2 separate regions of the Homo sapiens genome follow, and region 1 is linked to region 2. The links are contacts of gene promoters, found by promoter capture Hi-C in blood cells and fetal thymus (Javierre and others, 2016). All regions are on one chromosome and are shown on one strand. The core of a region is centred on a gene start or on the middle of the fragment in contact, and the rest is flanking DNA. Distances in the headings are between cores, read along the strand shown.

Region 1 (4,109 bases), core at 1,169-3,668, 110 kb before region 2:
TTCTCATGGCTACCTCCTCAACATCACTGATGTCTCAACTTAAATGTCCTTTTCAGAGAGACTGCCCAGCCAAAGTAAACTAGGCTCCTGGTCACGTTATCAGACAGCCTTGCTTTCCTTTCTTCACAGAAGTTACCATTGCAGCTTATTTCTCTAAAATCTTCCACTAAAGTTTCTTCCATTAAAATGCAAGCACCAGAAAGGCAGGGACCTTGTCTGTCATGTTCACTGATGTATTCCCCCAGTGCCTGGAACACCGCTGGCAAATGCTTAAAAAATGAAAATGATTTAAGCAAAGTTTGAACTGAGGCTTTCTGCCCATGATCTTTTCATTCCCACGGGCTAAAGAAGAGAATAGGTCAATGCAGCCAGTTCCTTTGGTAACGGGTTCAGCATGATGACCTATGCTGGAAATGCCAGCCTCATAATGACACAGTCGTTAGATTCCTGTGTTACTCAGAACACTCTATAGACCAGAATCTGATTCCTGCATGTGAGAAAGTACTGCATTTTTCAGTAGGTAACAATATGGCCTCAATGAGAGGCAACTACTTTGTATCTGAAGGTCTTCGTGCATCTGCTCTCTAAGCAAACTCCTTAAAATTTCTCTCACTTGAAAAAGAGACTATGAAAGACAGCTGAGTCCTGAGATTCAAATATTCATTTTATGTACTTTAAATAACTCCCTTTGGAGAAACCACAGATAGATACTACTTTTTTTTTTTTTTTGAGACAGAGTCTCGCTCTATCGCCCAGGCTGGAGTGCAATGGCGCGATCTCGGCTCACTGCAACCTCCACCTCCCAGGTTCAAGTGATTCTCCTGCCCCAGCCTCCTGGGTAGCTGGGATTACAGGTGCGTGCTACCATGCCCGGCTAATTTTTGCATTTTTAGTAGAGATGGGGTTTCATTGTGTTGGCCAGGCTGGTTTCAAACTCCTGACCTCAGGTGATGCGCGCACCTCGGCCTCCCAAAGTGCTGGGGTTACAGGCGTGAGCCATGGCGCCCGGCAGATAGATACTTCATTACCTATGTCCCTCTTCCTTGTCAGGCGTGCATATAAGCTTATAAGACATATTGTCTACTAGGCTATACACTAAGACACATTCTTGCTAAGCCTAGGTAGGGAATGATTCATTAAACTATCAATGTGCTTAGTTAGTAACTTGACAATATTTATTTCTACTCTCCAGTATTACAGAAAACTACCAAAACTAACCCAAAAGTATTAGTTTTAGAAAATAAAATTCTTTTTCTTTTTTTTTTTTGAGACAGGGTCTCACTCTGTCACCCAGGCTGGAGTACAGTGGCATGATCATAGTTCACTACAGCCTCGAACTCCAGGGCTCAAGCGGATCCTCCCACCTCAGCCTCCCAGGTATATGCCACCATGCCAAGCTAATTTTTTTTTTTTTTAATTAGGGACAGAGTCTCACTCTGTCTCCCAAGCTGGAGTGCAATGGCGCTATCCTAGCTCACTGCAGCCTTGAACTCCTGGGCTTAAGGGATTTTTCTGCCTCATCTTCCTGGGTAGCTAGGACTACCAGTGTGCGCTACCATGCCTGGCTAGTTTTTTTGTTTTTAGAGATGGGGTCTCACTATGTTGCCCAGGCTGGCTTCAAATTCCTGGCCTCAAGTCATCCTCCTGCCTCAGCCTCCCAAAGTGCTGGGTTTACAGGTGTGAGCCACCACACCTGGCCTTTAGAAAATAAAGTTCTGGGGGCTGGGCGAGGTGGCTCACACCTGTAATCCCAGCACTTTGGAAGGCCGAGGCAGGCGGATCACAAGGTCAGGAGATTGAGACCATCCTGGCCAACACAGTGAAACCCTGTCTCTACTAAAACTACAAAAAATTAGCTGGGCATGGCAGCGGGCACCTGCAGTCCCAGCTACTCGGGAGGCTGAGGCAGGAGAATGCCGTGAACCCGGGGAGGCAGAGCTTGCAGTGAGCTGAGATCGCGCCACTGCACTCCAGCCTGGGCGACAGAGCGAGACTGTTTAAAAAAAAAAAAAAAAAAAGTAAAAAAAGAAAATAAAGTTCTTGGCCAGGCATGGTGGCTCACGCCTGTAATCCCAGCACTTTGGGAGGCTGAGACAGGTGGATCATCTGAGGTCAGGAGTTCGAGTCCAGCCTGACCAACATGGTGAAACCCTGTCTCTACTGAATACAAAAAATTAGCTGGGTGTGGTGGCACATGTCTGTAATCCCAGCTACTTGGGAGGCTGAGGAAGGAGAATCGCTTGAACCCAGGTGGCAGACGTTGCAGTGAGCTGAGATTGCACCATTGCACTCCAGCCTGGGCAACAAAAGTGAAGCTCCGGCTGGGCGTGGTGGCTCACGCCTGTAATCCCAGCACTTTGGAAGGCCGAGGCAGGCGGATCACAAGGTCAAGAGAACGAGACCATCCTGGACAACATGGTGAAACTCCGTCTCTATTAAAAGTATAAAAATTAGCTGGGCGTGGTGGCGGGTGCCTGTAGTCCCAGCTACTCGGGAGGCTGAGGCAGGAGAATCGCTTGAACCCGAGAGGTGGAGGTTGCAGTGAGCCGAGATCATGCCATTGCACTCCAGCCTGGGTGACAGAGTGAGACACCGTCTCAAGAAAAAATAAAATAAAAAAAAATAAAGTGAAGCTCCATCTCAAAAAAAAAAAAAAAAGTTCTTGACTGGGCACGGTGGCTCACGCCTGTAATACCAGGACTTTGGGAGGCTGAGTAGGGTAGATCACTTGAGGTCAGGGGTTCGAGACCAGCCAACATAGTGAAACCCTGTCTCTACTAAAAATATAAAAATTAGCTGGGTGTGATGGCACAGGCCTGTAATCCCAGCTACTCGGGAGGTTGAGGCAGGAGAATTGCTTGAACCCAGGAGGCAGAGGTTGCAGTAAGCCGAGATCGCACCACTGCACTCCAGCCTGGGCAACAGAGTGAGATTCGGTCTCAAAAAAAAAAAAAAGAAAGAAAGAAAATAAAGTTCTTTATGAAACTGGCAATATGAGCTCACAGGCAATCTGGAATTGCATAAAATGAACTAGTCCAGTGATAGCAACTGCTCTGTCCCCAGCTTACTAGGAATGATTCTAAAATGGAGGCCTTCTACTTTGTGGATATTGTATAGGTCCGAACTCAAAGAGAGACCAAACTTCATTTAGGAAAACAAACAAACAAACAAGGAAACAGGCAATATTTTGAAAGGAAGAAGTCTAGATCATCTGACATTGCCACAAGAAACGCAGGTTAGTTCATCACACTGTTTCAGTTTTAGAACAGGTCTAAACTCAGATAAAAAGAATGAACTATTTAGCCCATTCTCTTTAAATGCAGCATGGCATAGTTTAATTAGTGCAATGTAATAATCTCCAATTGCTCATAGAAAGGAACTAATTCTGTCAAAGTGTTTTCTTAGTTTCCCCCACCATGAAATGCATTTTATTCATTTTGAAGCATCTGAAAAATAAATAAGCAGCTGATATCCAGAAATGACCATAAAATAACTGTGTTTAAAGAGTTTAAAACAAAATACAGTAAAGCACACAAAGACAATATTCACAAAATGCTACCAAATAAACACATTCAACTTCCCACAGGTTTCACACAGGATAACTTTTGATATAACATCAGCAGCTGTAAAAATATAAAAATCCTATGTAATTGGCATCGTATTCTAGAAAAATAGCTAACTGAGCCTATAGGGAACGTTTTTGGTCTTCAGATTGGAAAGCATTTGGATCTGATAGAGAGGTGCTCCTGATTAGCAGATGACATAAGCACAGCCAAAGCTTTACTCAGAAATTCCCAGTCAACATCACTGTCCTTCACTCAACCTTAGGGCTGCTGCAGAAGCTGCAAATGTCTGCAATCTGAACAGAGTCAGAAGTCTAGGTAGGAAAGGTTCTTATCCTCTCTCCTTATAAGACACTGATTCATATATTCCAAAATAGCTTGGTACACTGTGCACATCTGGTGCTATTTATTTAAGTAAAATAAACTAGAAGAGAAGGAAACAGGGTAAGAATCTTGCAGCTTTCACCAATGAAAAAAGTAAATGTTCTGTTTTATACTTTTTAATTTTGCTTTTGTTTTTTAAGGTAAGAGATTTGAGGTCCTGTC
Region 2 (4,686 bases), core at 24-2,523:
ATTCTAAAAGGTTGCTTCAAGCAGGGAGGAGAGAAATACAGGACAAAATACCTTATACACCCACCCCTTAAAACACCAAGGAGAGCTGTCCGTTACTCACCCACAATAAGGCTGGATACAGGCATAAACTTGGCAGCTACCTGCAGCCTATAAAAGGAACAGAAATTTAAAAACCTAGAGCCATCCTTTTCCCCCTCTTGGCAACTGATCTCTCATCCCTGGTGTTACGTGTACTGGCCAAAGCATATCATAGGCACGTATTCCAAGCCCTTTCTCTGCAATCAAGAAAGGAAACGGCCCCCAAGAGGACCGGGATTCGGGTTCCCCTCCCGCAGTGAAACTGGAAGCCATCCCAGCTCAGAACCCAGAAAGCGGCCACCAGGAGCAACCTGTGGCGAGTGTTACGAACCATCCCCCTGGCGCAGCACACAGGTCCAGCAAGGCTCGGGCTTTCTGCAGGAACTGAAAGCGGCGATTGAGCTGGATCAGCTTGAAAGCAGATCGGGAACGGTAACCTGGACAAAACAACCAAGTGCGCAAACTGCTTCACTAGTAGGATTTCTCCGGCCTCGCAACCGACCACCCCTTCTGCAGGAGAGGTACATAATGGTCGCAAAGAGCAGGCGAACCGGGCAGAGATCGCTCGCTCGCTCGCAGACTGAGCGAATCCGGACTCACCCGTCTCCTTCGCCAAGTGATAAAACTTGTCTCGTCGGCTCTTGCCAACTTTGCCCTTCTTGCCCATGGTGGAAAGGGGGAGTATCCCTCAATCTGGGGAGAAAGTAGAAGTTGGGAACGTCTCTTTCCGGAGCACCAGATTCCACTTCCAGTTTCCCACTTCCAGTTTCCCACTTCCCGCAGCAATTCCACCCCGCGCCCCTCTCCGCACACTACCTAGACCCAGAGCCGCTTTCTCCACACTTGGAACCGCACAAGTATGCAGCTAACTACTTCCGCTTCCGCTTGCGTCCCCTGCGTCCCTGGCTCGAGGTTTTCCGCCATTTTGAGTGTGGCCCTAGATTGTTCTCAATACTCTGTCCTTGGGTTTTGTAAGTTGAAAGTTGAGACTAGGAAGGCATATCACAAGAACTATAAACAGAGTTTCAATGAGGCAACACTGAGGAGGAGTTCTACTCCTTCCTCATCCCCTTCCAAAGCCCCTGAACTCGAGTAGCCGCCCCTCCCATCATGGTTCCCTTAGTGTGGTCTCGCCGCACACCCCGCCCATTGACCCGGAATTCTTCTCTGCCTGGTCTTCAGGTCCCAATCCTCCGCTTCCGCGCTTGCGCGCCAAGACGGCTCGGATGCCGGCGGTCTCTGCTGAAGAGAGAAGATGGCGCTTGACGGACCAGAGCAGGTATGGCGGGTGCAGTGGCGGCCCGGCAGGTTACGGGGCTGGGTGCGGAGCGAGCGTGATCTGAGTGGAGAGCGGGCCGGGGCAGGAGCGTCGGGTGGGTCGGAGGTGCCTGGACCAGTCCATGCTGGACGCTGCCTGCGACCGGATCTGCTGTGTCAGCGCCGCCCTCGGTGAGTCAGGGCAAGGCTGGGAGAGGAAGACGCGGTAGAAGCGGAGTGAGTGAGGGAAGCGATGGGCGCGGGAATGGCCGGCCCACGGGTCGCAGGAGACGGGACGCCAGTCCTTTGGCTCCGTTCCGCTGGCTCCTTCGTCAGTACTGACACCTCGGGCTTGTAGAGCACTTCACGCAGTGCAAAGCGCCCCCCGTCTATATCATATCGCCTCTCGGTCCTCCTAAAAGTCGTATGAGGTAGGCGGCGTTCCCATTCTTTTATTTTAGTCCTGGGAAAATGGAGGGTTCCAAGGGAGGGAGGGATTAGAACCCAGATCCTGAGCCTCCGAAGTCCAAACTTTTTCTACTACGCAAAGCTACCTGGTGTCAAGCCTTATTCAAAGTGCCCTGCAAGTGGCTTTACCCCCTCGGATGTTTAACCTGTCGTTTAAGACTCACTCTGTGTCTTCAGATGGAGCTGGAGGAGGGGAAGGCAGGCAGCGGACTCCGCCAATATTATCTGTCCAAGATTGAAGAACTCCAGGTGAGGACGGACTCCAGAGGGAGCTAGGAAGGGTGATGATGGGGGATGGAAACGGACTTCCACAAATCCATCTAATTCCTTTGGGAGTGCAGTGGAAGAAGCTGCTGCTTCTCCTTTCTTGTTTGTTTCTTAGCTAGTAGGGTGTATGTATCAGAAGTAAGCAATCTCTTGTTCTCCTCCAGTCCCATCTCTTTGAGGGTCTTAGTGTTCACAGTTTGTTACACATCTTCGAGTCAAATCTTAATAGTAAAGGTACCTCTAGCCAAAGGTCAACCCTTTTGGAAGAAGCCCGAATGAAAAGGATTCTTATAAAAGGGAAACATAAGCTCAGGAGTTGAAATTTATCACCAAGAGGTTGGGTGAGGGTGAAGTGAGAATGTGAGGAAGGGCATCATTGAGGGATCTGGACAATGCTAATTCCATAGAGACTGAATGAAAGAAATTGGGCAACCCAGAGCCCTAGCCTAAAGCGCTAAACCATAGAAAAAGGACCGTTTATGTTGTTAATCAAATGTTTGTGTTACCAGTAAGGCTTCCAGCAGTAAGGTATGGCTTCCAGTAGTAAGCCTTACAGACAACATAAACAGTAGTCTGTTAGTGTTACGTTATACTGTTACGGTAGGCTGTTAGTAGTTTAACTTTGGACAGGTCCATGGATTTTCAATTTCACCCTAACCCCCTGCGTTGTTCAAGTGTCAACTGTAATATAAATTGGATGGGGGAAAGCCACAAAAGACAATTCTGAATTCCAAGTGCATTTGCAGGTATTATGTTTAGTTTACCATTTTTGAATGCTTTTTCATGTGTTTTTATTCGTTCACCTTAGTAGTCTTGAAGCAGGGTAGCTGATGCTATACCCATGTGCCGTTTGGTAACAGATCTAGATTTTTAAAAATAGATTGTCTTACCTTTACTTTGCTTTTGATTGACAGCGGCTGGGCTAGAACTCAGGTTTCTCACCTAACAATCTTTCCACCAGGTGTTGTTGCCTTCCTGCAAGAAATTTGGTGTTACATGAGCCAGCTGTAACTTTTCTCCATTAGATTCTGTTACTCCTGGACCAGTATTGGACAAGCAGCCTTCTTTGATGGCTGCTGTAAGGTCCAGAGGGACTCTTGAAGGACAGGGCAGGGTCATTAGGATCATACTGGAGAATCTGAAACAACATGCAGGTGCCCTGTGCCCTTCCCTCAGCTCATTCAGACCTGTGAGGTCTTGGCCAAGATCCTACCTCCTCCTGTCTCCTGCCCTTGAATAATGGAATTTGTCTCTTGTCTGCCACAGCTGATTGTGAATGATAAGAGCCAAAACCTCCGGAGGCTGCAGGCACAGAGGAACGAACTAAATGCTAAAGGTGAGTGGAGAAAGATGGGAAGCCGCATGTGGGCAGTTTGTCTGAGGTCTGTCCTTATCTCCCTGCACTGTGTCTTCACAGCAGTGCTTACTGTTTTCTCCCTGTCATCATCTAGTAGTTTCACATGCATCTCTTTTTCCTGAGCCCTATTGTAGCCTCCTTAAATACATGAATTTTGACCTTTGGCCTTCCTTTAATAAGAGTGATGCTTAGCTCATGCACGTAGAATTGGGTCCTGGAGACTCCAAAGGAGTAGCTAGGTGACCACTGTGTCTGTTTGCCATCTAGTTCGCCTATTGCGGGAGGAGCTACAGCTGCTGCAGGAGCAGGGCTCCTATGTGGGGGAAGTAGTCCGGGCCATGGATAAGAAGAAAGTGTTGGTCAAGGTAAAAGCAGCATGACCCCAGGGACCAGCTCGGTCTCCACTGCATTCCCACCCCTTTGTGTGTAGCCTCGGGAGACAGGGTTCTGTGTTCTGTCAAGGTATTGTGGGATTCTCATAGGTCTTCCTGGGTAGGATTAGTGATTTGGTGGCTGTCAAGGAAGGTCATGAGCCCTTGTTTCTTTAGGTACATCCTGAAGGTAAATTTGTTGTAGACGTGGACAAAAACATTGACATCAATGATGTGAGTGTAGCAGGTGAGGTGGTGGTGGTGGTGGGGTCAGCTCTTACTGTACCACTTCTGAAACTCGCCCCCTTCACCCAGGTGACACCCAATTGCCGGGTGGCTCTAAGGAATGACAGCTACACTCTGCACAAGATCCTGCCCAACAAGGTAGACCCATTAGTGTCACTGATGATGGTGGAGAAAGTACCAGATTCAACTTATGAGATGATTGGTGGACTGGACAAACAGATCAAGGAGATCAAAGAAGTGATCGAGCTGCCTGTTAAGCATCCTGAGCTCTTCGAAGCACTGGGCATTGCTCAGCCCAAGGTGAGGAGCAGGGCTTCTCTGAGAGGGCCAAGCTGTACTTACTCCTCCTGCCCCAGCCAGCCCTACTGCAGGGGTTGGGGAGGCACCGGGATAGGCTGCATCTTGCTTGGGCTGGCCCTCCCCCTGAAAAGAGTGGCTGGGGAAGTGTTCCTAGGGCGGTGAGGTGGTTTGGATAGAAGGGACCTTGATGTTCCTTTTTTTTTTTTGTATCCCTAACATCTAGCAAGGGACCCAGCACTCGGTAAATGTTCACTGAATGAAATGAGGGGTGTAGCTTTCTGCCCTGAGTCCTGCTGTTCCCCTGTAGGGAGTGCTGCTGTATGGACCTCCAGGCACTGGGAA

What was found. The method cuts DNA at HindIII sites, captures the fragments that hold promoters and counts their contacts. A CHiCAGO score of 5 or more calls a contact.
Region 1: a fragment that was not itself captured here is called in contact with the fragment with the promoter of PSMC5 in region 2 in 3 of 17 cell types (endothelial precursors, erythroblasts and naive CD4 T cells); the score reaches 5.7 in endothelial precursors.

Annotation. Positions count from the first base shown.
Region 1 is chr17:63,718,773-63,722,881 of GRCh38, forward strand. All of the region lies in intron 4 of STRADA (STE20 related adaptor alpha), which reads right to left. Among named protein-coding and RNA genes, the nearest start is that of LIMD2, 21 kb to the left of the region's middle. The HindIII fragment of the contact is 2,715 bases long and covers 1,062-3,776 here.
Region 2 is chr17:63,826,158-63,830,843 of GRCh38, forward strand. PSMC5 (proteasome 26S subunit, ATPase 5) reads left to right here and starts at 1,274. Exons shown (of 12, transcript NM_002805.6): 1 at 1,274-1,357; 2 at 1,981-2,052; 3 at 3,337-3,406; 4 at 3,695-3,792; 5 at 3,976-4,032; 6 at 4,114-4,344; 7 at 4,652-4,686. The coding sequence starts at 1,334. FTSJ3 (FtsJ RNA 2'-O-methyltransferase 3) reads right to left here and starts at 1,506. Exons shown (of 21, transcript NM_017647.4): 1 at 895-1,506; 2 at 679-771; 3 at 410-515; 4 at 101-147. The coding sequence starts at 745. RefSeq lists enhancers at 619-1,818, 955-1,234, 1,615-1,664. The HindIII fragment of the contact is 8,506 bases long and covers 1-4,686 here.